4 separate regions of the Homo sapiens genome follow, and all the other regions are linked to region 1. The links are contacts of gene promoters, found by promoter capture Hi-C in blood cells and fetal thymus (Javierre and others, 2016). All regions are on one chromosome and are shown on one strand. The core of a region is centred on a gene start or on the middle of the fragment in contact, and the rest is flanking DNA. Distances in the headings are between cores, read along the strand shown.

Region 1 (2,638 bases), core at 93-2,592:
ATGCCACAGAGTGATGAAAACGTCAAATTTTTTTTTTTTTTTTTTTGAGACAGTGTCTCCTTTGTCATCCAGGCTGGAGTGCGGTGGTGCAAACATGGCTCACTGTAGCCTCGACCTCCTGGGCTCAAGCAGTCCTCCTACCTCAGCCTCCCAAGTAGCTGGGATTACAGGTGCATGCCACCACACCTGGCTATTTTTTTTTCTTCTTTTTCTTCCCTTTTTTTTTTTTTTTTTTTTTTTTTTTAGAGACAGGGTTTTGCCTTGTTGCCCATGCTAGTCTCGAACTCCTGGGCTCAAGCAATTTACCTACCTCAGCCTCCCAAAGTGCTGGGATTACAGGTGTGAGCCACTGTGCCCGGCTGTACATCTTTTTTTTTTTTTTTTTTTTTTGAGATGGAGTCTCACTCTGTCACCCAGGCTGGATTGCAGTGGCACGATCTTGGCTCACTGCAACCTCCACCTCCCGGGTTCAAGTAGTTCTCCTGCCTCAGCCTCCTGACTAGCTGGGATTACAGGCGCACGCCACCACGCCCAGCTAATTTTTGTATTTTTAGTAGAGATGGGGTTTCACCATGCTGGTCAGGCTGGTCTGGAACTCCTGACCTCGTGGTCCGCCTGCCTCAGCCTCCCACATCATATTTTATATTTGAGTACACGGTGGCTTCTTTTGTCCTCAGCTGTGACAAAAGTTTTGGAAAGCTGTTTAGTTCTAAAACTGGCTAACATGATTTGGGGGAATAATCAGTTCCCTAATATTAAAGAAAAATCAATTAACAAATCAGAGTCTAGGCCGGGCGTGGTGGCTCACGCCTGTAATCCCAGCACTTTGGGAGGCCGAGGCAGGCAGATCACTTGAGGTCAGTAGTTCGAGACCAGCCTGCCCAACATGGTGAAACCCTGTCTCTACCAAAACTACAAAAAAAAAATTAGCCGGGCGTGGTGACAGGCACCTGTAATCCCAGCTACTCAGGAGGCTGAGGCAGGAGAATTGCCTGAACCCGGGAGGTGGAGGTTGCAGTGAGCTCAGGTCGTGCCACTGCACTCCAGCCTGGGTGACAAGAGCGAGACTCCGTTTCAAAAAAAAAATGTTCAACTTTTCTTTTTTTGCTGTTATATACCAGATAGTCACAGTATAGCCACAACAATCCACTTTGAAATAAAACCCCATTCCTAGTACATTTCTAAATATTCTCCAGAGTCCTGAATATCATAATTCAACCTTAATGGAAAAGAAAGTACTGTATTTCAGACAAGGGAATCAAGTCAGGAATTAAGCTTCAGTGATTTATAGGCATTGTTTTTGCTGGAGTTGGTAATCATTGCTTCAAACTTCCTTTTACAGGATAGCTAGCGGCCAGGAGAAATACAGTGGAAAATGCAAAACAACGAAATTATAAAGCCTGCCAAATACTTCTCAGAATTGGAAAAGAGCATCCTGCTGGCTTTAGTAGAAAAGTATAAATATGTGCTGGAATGTAAGAAAAGTGATGCGCGAACTATTGCCCTTAAGCAGCGTACCTGGCAGGCGCTGGCCCACGAATACAACTCTCAGCCCAGCGTGTCCCTGCGGGATTTCAAACAGCTGAAGAAGTGCTGGGAGAACATCAAGGCTCGGACCAAAAAAATTATGGCCCATGAAAGGAGAGAGAAAGTGAAACGGAGCGTCAGCCCTCTCCTGAGTACCCACGTCCTAGGGAAGGAGAAGATCGCCAGCATGCTGCCGGAGCAGCTCTACTTCCTGCAGAGCCCCCCGGAGGAGGAGCCCGAATACCACCCCGACGCCTCAGCCCAAGGTATCCGTTCCTGATGCCAGTGTGCACGCTCTCACTGGGTATCTGTTTGACATTTTAATTTTAAAACCCTCCACTTTGAGGGAACTTCTAAAAATGAAACTTTTGTATCAAATCCAATTTTCCTAATTCAAGATCTCAGGATTATATAGGACATTCAAAGTCTTATAGAAGTGGGCGTGGTGGCTCGTGCCTGTAATCCCAGCACTTTGGGATGCTGAGGCGGGAGGATGGCTTGAGCTCAGGAATTTGAGACCACCCTGGGCAACAAAGTGAGACCCCTGTTTCTACAAAAAATAGAAAAAATTAGCTGGGCATGGTAGCATGCACCTGTAGTTCCAGCTACTCGGGAGGCTGAGGCTGGAGGATAACTTGAGCCCAGGAGGTGGAAGCTGCAGTGAGCTGTTATTGCGCCACTGCACTCCAGCCTGGGTGACGGAGTGAGACCCTGTCTCAAAAAAAAAAAAAAAAAAAAAGTAATATATAAAAACAAAAGTACTTGTTTACATCATTGTGCTAGCTCTCTTGGAGACTTTATTATTACTTAAACATAAAGAAAAATAAGGGACTGGATTAATGGAGTTCTTATTAGTGAGGTGCTGCAGTTGCCTATCAGCCTGTCTCAAATATGTTAAAGAGAATTGTATGAAGATTTGTATTCATCCACTCAATTTCACTTTTTTCAAAAAATATTTTTGGAGGTCCTTATTATTTGCAAAGCATTGCAGTAGGCCACTCAAAAGGCCATATTAAAAGAGTCAACCGGCTGGGTTCTGTGGCTCATGCCTGTAATCCCAGCACTTTGGGAGGCTGAGGTGGGCGGATCACCCGAGGTTGGGAGTTTGAGA
Region 2 (2,638 bases), core at 89-2,588, 1.3 Mb before region 1:
CATTGCATTCCACTTTGGGCGGCAGAGTGAGACCCTGTCTCAAAAAAAAAAAAAAGAAAGAAAAATTTGATGTGAATACTTCAAAGTACAAACTTAAAATTTCAGTGTGAGGTCAGATTTCTTCTTTGCTTTGCCCAGCTCTGGTTTAGGATTCGGCCTTTTCAGGTTTGCTAAATGAGTCACTCTTTGTCCACCTGCTTTCCAGCACTGGCACCAGTACCCTATTGATGGAAATTTATGTAATTTCTACTCATTTGCTATTACAAATAATGCTTAAACAATAACAAGTGTATATGTCATTTAAAAAGAAAATTTACACGTAAAAATTCTTATCCAGACCAATGGAAAATGGTGCATGCATTAATTTTTTTTTTTATATTTTCTTGTAGGCCTTGAGAGTAATGGCTAAAATTATGAGAGAATGTTGGTATGCCAATGGAGCAGCTAGGCTTACAGCATTGCGGATTAAGAAAACATTATCGCAACTCAGTCAACAGGAAGGCATCAAAATGTAATTCTACAGCTTTGCCTGAACTCTCCTTTTTTCTTCAGATCTGCTCCTGGGTTTTAATTTGGGAGGTCAATTGTTCTACCTCACTGAGAGGGAACAGAAGGATATTGCTTCCTTTTGCAGCAGTGTAATAAAGTCAATTAAAAACTTCCCAGGATTTCTTTGGACCCAGGAAACAGCCATGTGGGTCCTTTCTGTGCACTATGAACGCTTCTTTCCCAGGACAGAAAATGTGTAGTCTACCTTTATTTTTTATTAACAAAACTTGTTTTTTAAAAAGATGATTGCTGGTCTTAACTTTAGGTAACTCTGCTGTGCTGGAGATCATCTTTAAGGGCAAAGGAGTTGGATTGCTGAATTACAATGAAACATGTCTTATTACTAAAGAAAGTGATTTACTCCTGGTTAGTACATTCTCAGAGGATTCTGAACCACTAGAGTTTCCTTGATTCAGACTTTGAATGTACTGTTCTATAGTTTTTCAGGATCTTAAAACTAACACTTATAAAACTCTTATCTTGAGTCTAAAAATGACCTCATATAGTAGTGAGGAACATAATTCATGCAATTGTATTTTGTATACTATTATTGTTCTTTCACTTATTCAGAACATTACATGCCTTCAAAATGGGATTGTACTATACCAGTAAGTGCCACTTCTGTGTCTTTCTAATGGAAATGAGTAGAATTGCTGAAAGTCTCTATGTTAAAACCTATAGTGTTTGAATTCAAAAAGCTTATTTATCTGGGTAACCCAAACTTTTTCTGTTTTGTTTTTGGAAGGGTTTTTGTGGTATGTCATTTGGTATTCTATTCTGAAAATGCCTTTCTCCTACCAAAATGTGCTTAAGCCACTAAAGAAATGAAGTGGCATTAATTAGTAAATTATTAGCATGGTCATGTTTGAATATTCTCACATCAAGCTTTTGCATTTTAATTGTGTTGTCTAAGTATACTTTTAAAAAATCAAGTGGCACTCTAGATGCTTATAGTACTTTAATATTTGTAGCATACAGACTAATTTTTCTAAAAGGGAAAGTCTGTCTAGCTGCTTGTGAAAAGTTATGTGGTATTCTGTAAGCCATTTTTTTCTTTATCTGTTCAAAGACTTATTTTTTAAGACATGAATTACATTTAAAATTAGAATATGGTTAATATTAAATAATAGGCCTTTTTCTAGGAAGGCGAAGGTAGTTAATAATTTGAATAGATAACAGATGTGCAAGAAAGTCACATTTGTTATGTATGTAGGAGTAAACGTTCGGTGGATCCTCTGTCTTTGTAACTGAGGTTAGAGCTAGTGTGGTTTTGAGGTCTCACTACACTTTGAGGAAGGCAGCTTTTAATTCAGTGTTTCCTTATGTGTGCGTACATTGCAACTGCTTACATGTAATTTATGTAATGCATTCAGTGCACCCTTGTTACTTGGGAGAGGTGGTAGCTAAAGAACATTCTGAGTATAGGTTTTTCTCCATTTACAGATGTCTTTGGTCAAATATTGAAAGCAAACTTGTCATGGTCTTCTTACATTAAGTTGAAACTAGCTTATAATAACTGGTTTTTACTTCCAATGCTATGAAGTCTCTGCAGGGCTTTTACAGTTTTCGAAGTCCTTTTATCACTGTGATCTTATTCTGAGGGGAGAAAAAACTATCATAGCTCTGAGGCAAGACTTCGACTTTATAGTGCTATCAGTTCCCCGATACAGGGTCAGAGTAACCCATACAGTATTTTGGTCAGGAAGAGAAAGTGGCCATTTACACTGAATGAGTTGCATTCTGATAATGTCTTATCTCTTATACGTAGAATAAATTTGAAAGACTATTTGATCTTAAAACCAAAGTAATTTTAGAATGAGTGACATATTACATAGGAATTTAGTGTCAATTTCATGTGTTTAAAAACATCATGGGAAAAATGCTTAGAGGTTACTATTTTGACTACAAAGTTGAGTTTTTTTCTGTAGTTACCATAATTTCATTGAAGCAAATGAATGAGTTTGAGAGGTTTGTTTTTATAGTTGTGTTGTATTACTTGTTTAATAATAATCTCTAATTCTGTGATCAGGTACTTTTTTTGTGGGGGTTTTTTTTTTGTTTTTTTTTTTTTGTTGTTGTTTTTGGGCCA
Region 3 (2,638 bases), core at 63-2,562, 1.3 Mb before region 1:
ACTCCTACTGAATTGATGGATGCTAGCCTCCTGGAGCTTTCCTGTTTCTAGACTTTTAGTTTTTACTATGCTGACTTTTTTCTGTATTTCTGGAGATTTCATTGACTTCCACACAACTGCTCTGGCTTTTGGTCTTGGCCATTCTATTATTCCTGTTTGCTGAATTTTTAAAATTTTGACCCTTATTTTACATTTCTAGAAATTATTTCTTGTTCTCCGATGGCTCCTTTTTTACGGCAGCTGGCTCTTGTTTTGGAGATTTCATTCTCTCACATCTCTCCAGAGATACTAATTAGGGTTTTATCTTTAACATTACCTACTTCATCTTGTTTTTTTTTTCCAGGATGACGTTGTGTTTACTCATGTTTGTTCAACTTGGTTGTGCTATTGGTTTTCCTCAAATATTTGGGGCTCCATGGCTCTCCGTCGACTTTCCTAAATGAAGGATTAGATTAATCTGTATGGATAGCTGGTGTGGCCTGCTTTCACAAGAGGCGTCTCCCTGGAAGGGGAGGGCCAGTTCAGGTCCCCTTGAGTGGCTGGGCCATATTGTCAGCAGGCTCACCTCTAGATTGCAGCAGGCAGCCTGGGATGCCCACGCCTGCCAAGGTAAGGAGGTATTTAAATAACGGACTGGAGTATTTAGCTATAATTTCCTTTTGGACAGAGGACTTTCTACCACCCCTCCATGCCTTCTGATATGGTTTGGCTTTATGTCTCCACCCAGATCTCATCTTGAATTGTAATCCCATAATCCCCTCGTGTCCTGGGAGGTACCTGGTTGGAGGTAATTGAATCATGGGGGCGGTTTCCCTCGGTGCTGTTCTCGTGATAGTGAGTGAGTTCTCATGAGACCTGATAGTTACAGGGGCTTCCCCCTTCACTTAGCACTCATTTTCTCTCTTGCCACCAGGTGAGGAAGGACGTATTTTCTTCCCCTTCCGCCATGATTGTAAGTTTTCTGAGGCCTCCCCAGCCATGCTAAACTGTGAGTCATTTAAATCTCTTTTCTTTATAAGTTACCCAGTCTCGGGTATGTCTTTATTAGCAGCGTGAGAATGGAGTAATACACCCTCTCAACCCAAACTTGCCATATATATTTGTTGGGGAGGCCTACATAGACTTCCAACCCTGTTCTTGTTCTGCTTCTCTCTTGACTTTAGACACCTATATTAGGATCCCTTCCTGGATAGATCACCCACATTTTTTAAGAATAATGATTGGGTCCTAGGTACCCAAAGGGCAAAATTACCACTAGTTGTTCCTTTACGGGTTGAGCATATGTTGAGCAGGGGAAGGGAGAAGGGAGGGGCCCCGAATGTCCCAGCCACTGTGAATGCAGCTCTTTGCTCAGTTACTCTGATGGTTATCCTATGGTCTACTCTTGCTTTCTGTCTCTTGTTTCTGAGTTTGGGGTTTCTCTAGGGCTCCCTTGAGAAGGAAAGTTCTTGGTACTGGTGTTTGGGGCTGTGGTTTACCTTTGTACTTTCTCAGTTGATCTGATCCCATCTACTTTTTCTTTTCTTTTCTTTTCTTTTTTTTTTTTTTTTTTGAGACAGAGTCTTGCTGTGTTGCCCAGGCTAGAGTGCAGTGGCACCATCTGGGCTCACTGCAACCTCCGCCTCCTGGGTTCAAGCAATTCTCATGCCTCAGCCTCCCAAGTAGCTGGGATTATAGGCATGCGCCACCACACCTAATTTTGTATTTTTCGCAGAGATGGGGTTTCACCATGTTGGCCAGGCTGGTCTTGAACTCCTGACCTCAGGTGATCCGCCCATCTTGGCTTCCCAAAGTGCTGGGATTACAAGTGTGAGCCACCGCACCCAGCCAATCCCATCTACTTTCTAGCTTCCAGTATTTTCTCAGACTTTCTCATCTGCTGGCACCCTGTCTTGCTTTCCAGCACTGATCTGATTTCACTCTTTAAAAAATATATTTTATCCCCATGGATCCATGGTGTAGTGGAGAGGTGGATGCATGTGCTCAATTTGTGACTTCCAAACTAATATATTTTTCAAACTTAATTTTTTTTCCTAATTCACATGGTTCAGAAGATACTGAAAGGTCTATCAAGAGGGTACAGGAAAAAATTTTTAAAGGTACTAAAAGGATATATAAAGTGAAAATGTCCCTTTCATCCTATCCCAGATAAAGACTACAGGTTGTCCTCTTATATTTATTCTGCCCTTCTTTCTTTAGAAACAAAATCTCCAATTTTAGCTATACTCATGAATGCTCAGCTAAGGAGGGCGTTTCCTAGTTGTGTCCAAGTCACTGAGTTCTGGCCAGTGGGAGGTGAGTGGAGGCCATGTGCTTAACGTTCAGTGGCTCTCCTAGAGGGCGTGGATGTGCCTTTCACTTTCTTTACTCCCCCTTTCTTATTGGCTGGATTGCAGAGGTGATGGTGAGCCATCCTCCTCCCTGCAGAGGAAGGCAACACTGTAGTGATGGCAGAGCCACACAATGGAATGATCCTGGGTCCCTGACACTTCGTCACCATTATACCTGCCCTGCTTTGTGAGACAGAATTGAAATGCTATCTTGTTTAAGCCTTGCATTTTGGGGTCACTTCTTATGACAGACAGCCTAGTCTGTCTGCTAATTGATATAATCTCTGGGCTATTCAGCTCACCTTCCT
Region 4 (2,638 bases), core at 90-2,589, 1.2 Mb before region 1:
GGCAAGAACACACACAGCCAGTCACCTTCACAAGATGGGTTGATTGTTCTTCAAGATTAGACCGAGTTGCCTTATTATCCATCCCAGACAACAAGGCATCTCACCCAAACAGACGCATTTGCAGGAACAGCCAGCACACCGGCCAGATTTGAATTGCTAATGTATAATCTGCCCGGCACAGATGTGCAATGAATATTTGGATGTTGTTTTGCCCGTCAGTTGAGGAGGATGAATTGATGAGGTGATGAGTATTCAATGATGGGTCCTGGATGTTGGCCAACAGCAGAGGTTGAGCACTTGCATGGATGATCATCAGATTACCCCCCAAAGTGCCTGTGCCATAATTCAGCAGCAAATTCTAGGACAGTCTAGCAGAGTGTACTTCTGGTTGGTGGAAAGTTCCCTTTCTTTTCTGGTACAATTAGATGTTTCGCTGTGTTTTTCAGGCTTAGGAAAGATATAGAAGTTGCCTTTATTGCCCTTCCCTGCCAACTCTTAAGGATATGAATAATGGTTCAGGAGCTAACTACTTGGGTTTCAATTTAGCTTCAGCATTTTCTAGCTCATTTTCTTAAGTTATTTGTGCCTCTGTTTCCTCATTTGTTAAAACAGATTGAAAAATTCTACCACCCATCTAGAACTATTGTGAGGATTAAATCAGATAATGTACACAGACTAAGTGCTAGAACAGTGCCTAGTGCATAGTACATGCTGAAAAGATGTTACCTGTTACTGTATTGTTGGTCATTTGCTTTCTCTCAGTATTACTGTGGTCAAGTAGCTTGGATACACTGGAAATAAAATTAATCCATTTTCATTACCTCAGGAGAGCTCATGGCCTATAGTATGCTACTTTCCCTGGTACATTTCTGATAGAAAATGTACCTTTCCTATAGGAATGGAAGTTTTCCTATAGTTATATAACCATGGAGCCCTTTTTCCTGAAGCATTTTTTACAGCTTATTTTCCTTGGAACATATTATAGGAAAAGCAGCTCTAGAAGGTAAACATTTACAAAGTTTTGAAAGAAAAACATGTGACTCAAGAATTTTATATATAATCAAGCTATTTATATGCAAGACAATGGGAATTATACAAATGCATATATTCTCTCTGAAAAAATGTTATTCAAAGATGTGTTCCATAGAAAGGGAACAATGAATCTAAGGTAGAAACCAGTGAGACCAGTTGATTGTACTGAAGTAAGTCCAAACAACTGCGGCAAATATATTATCAAACTTGAAATAAAAAAATTAAAATATTTGAAAGAAATTATTTATATTGAAATAATGGGATAATGAAATACATCAATGAATAGCAGAAGAATGAAGAAAATCAGAAGGGAAAGCAAGTGTCCTTTTTAAGAAAAAAAAGGATGGTACAAAGAATATATACACATATACACATATATATTATGTATATATGTATTACACTTGTGTGTGTAGATACATACAGTGTACACATATACAGGTGTGTATATATGTGTGTGTACATATATACAGGTCTGTATATATGTGTATATATATGTGTGTGTGAGTATATATGTGTGTATATATATGTGTGTGTGTATATACACACACAGGTGTAATAAGAGCAACCTCAGTAATCTTTAATAAAATATTAAAAACCAATACTATAAGAAAAAACACTAAATCTAAGATTTCTCTATTTATTAGACAAACCAAAAAATATTCAAAATTAAAATATGGGTAAAATATGATTATTTAACGTGAACAAAGAGAAAGTCAGGTCTGAGGATATTAGTATTGAACAATGCAGAATTATGTAAGTCAAAGAGTATTAAACTGCTAATTTCATTTCTTTATCTTCAGTGCTATGCACAGGGTAGGTCCTAAATATATATGAGTAAGATTTATTGTGGAAGTAGAAGCAACGAGTGAAAGGTATGTGAGAAGGCATGATTTGCCTGCAAGGACCTCTTGAGGGTAAGTTTAAAAATAAATTTATTGACACACAATATTTGTACATATTGACAGTGTAACATGACATTTTGTTGCATGCATACAATGTGTAATGATCAAGTCAGGGTATTTGGGGTATTCACCATCTTGAGTATTTACCATTTCTTGGTGTTGGGAACATTTCAGGTTATCTTCTAGCTAATTTGAAATATACAATACATTGTTGTTAACTATAATCACCCTACTCTGCTATTGAACATTAGAACTTATTTCTTCAATCTAACTGTATATTTGTATCCATTAACCAACCTCTCTTCAACCCTCCGACCCCCTCCCAGCCTCTGGTAACTATTTTTCTACTTTATCTCCATGAGATCAATTTTCTTTTCTTTTCTTTTCTTTTTTTTTTTTTTGAGACCGAGTCTCGCTCTGTTGCCCAGGCTGGAGTGCAATGGCAGGATCTCGGCTCACTGCAACCTCCGCCTCCTGGGTTCAAGCGATTCTCTTGCCTCAGCCTCCTGAGCAGCTGGGATTATAGGCACCCGCCACCACGCCCGGCTAATTTTTTTGTATTTTTAGTAGAGACGGGGTTTCACCATGTTGGACAGGCTGGTCTCAAACTCGTGACCTCAGGTGATCCACCCACCTCGACCGCCCAAAGTGCTGTGATTACAGGTGTGAGCCAGCCCACCCAGCTGAGATCAACTTTTTTAGTG

The links. Contacts are between HindIII fragments. The CHiCAGO score rates a contact against its expected background, and 5 or more counts as called.
Region 2: a contact is called between a fragment that was not itself captured here and the fragment with the promoter of MSANTD3-TMEFF1 in region 1, in 5 of 17 cell types (naive B cells, total B cells, M2 macrophages and 2 more). The highest score is 10.8, in naive B cells.
Region 3: a fragment that was not itself captured here is called in contact with the fragment with the promoter of MSANTD3-TMEFF1 in region 1 in 9 of 17 cell types (total B cells, fetal thymus, total CD8 T cells and 6 more); the score reaches 10.9 in total B cells.
Region 4: a fragment that was not itself captured here is called in contact with the fragment with the promoter of MSANTD3-TMEFF1 in region 1 in 1 of 17 cell types (naive CD8 T cells); the score reaches 5.1 in naive CD8 T cells.

The regions. Positions count from the first base shown.
Region 1 is chr9:100,440,564-100,443,201 of GRCh38, forward strand. It overlaps MSANTD3-TMEFF1 (MSANTD3-TMEFF1 readthrough), which reads left to right and starts at 1,343. Exons shown (of 10, transcript NM_001198812.1): 1 at 1,343-1,793. The coding sequence starts at 1,376. It overlaps MSANTD3 (Myb/SANT DNA binding domain containing 3), which reads left to right. Exons shown (of 3, transcript NM_080655.3): 2 at 1,343-1,793. The coding sequence starts at 1,376. The HindIII fragment of the contact is 4,285 bases long and covers 1,274-2,638 here.
Region 2 is chr9:99,148,791-99,151,428 of GRCh38, forward strand. It overlaps TGFBR1 (transforming growth factor beta receptor 1), which reads left to right. Exons shown (of 9, transcript NM_004612.4): 9 at 390-2,638. The coding sequence ends at 515. Among named protein-coding and RNA genes, the nearest start is that of TGFBR1, 45 kb to the left of the region's middle. The HindIII fragment of the contact is 187 bases long and covers 1,246-1,432 here.
Region 3 is chr9:99,164,967-99,167,604 of GRCh38, forward strand. No RefSeq gene overlaps it. Among named protein-coding and RNA genes, the nearest start is that of ALG2, 56 kb to the right of the region's middle. RefSeq lists an enhancer at 2,181-2,475. The HindIII fragment of the contact is 3,039 bases long and covers 1-2,638 here.
Region 4 is chr9:99,201,603-99,204,240 of GRCh38, forward strand. No RefSeq gene overlaps it. Among named protein-coding and RNA genes, the nearest start is that of ALG2, 19 kb to the right of the region's middle. RefSeq lists an enhancer at 1,664-1,833. The HindIII fragment of the contact is 5,389 bases long and covers 1-2,638 here.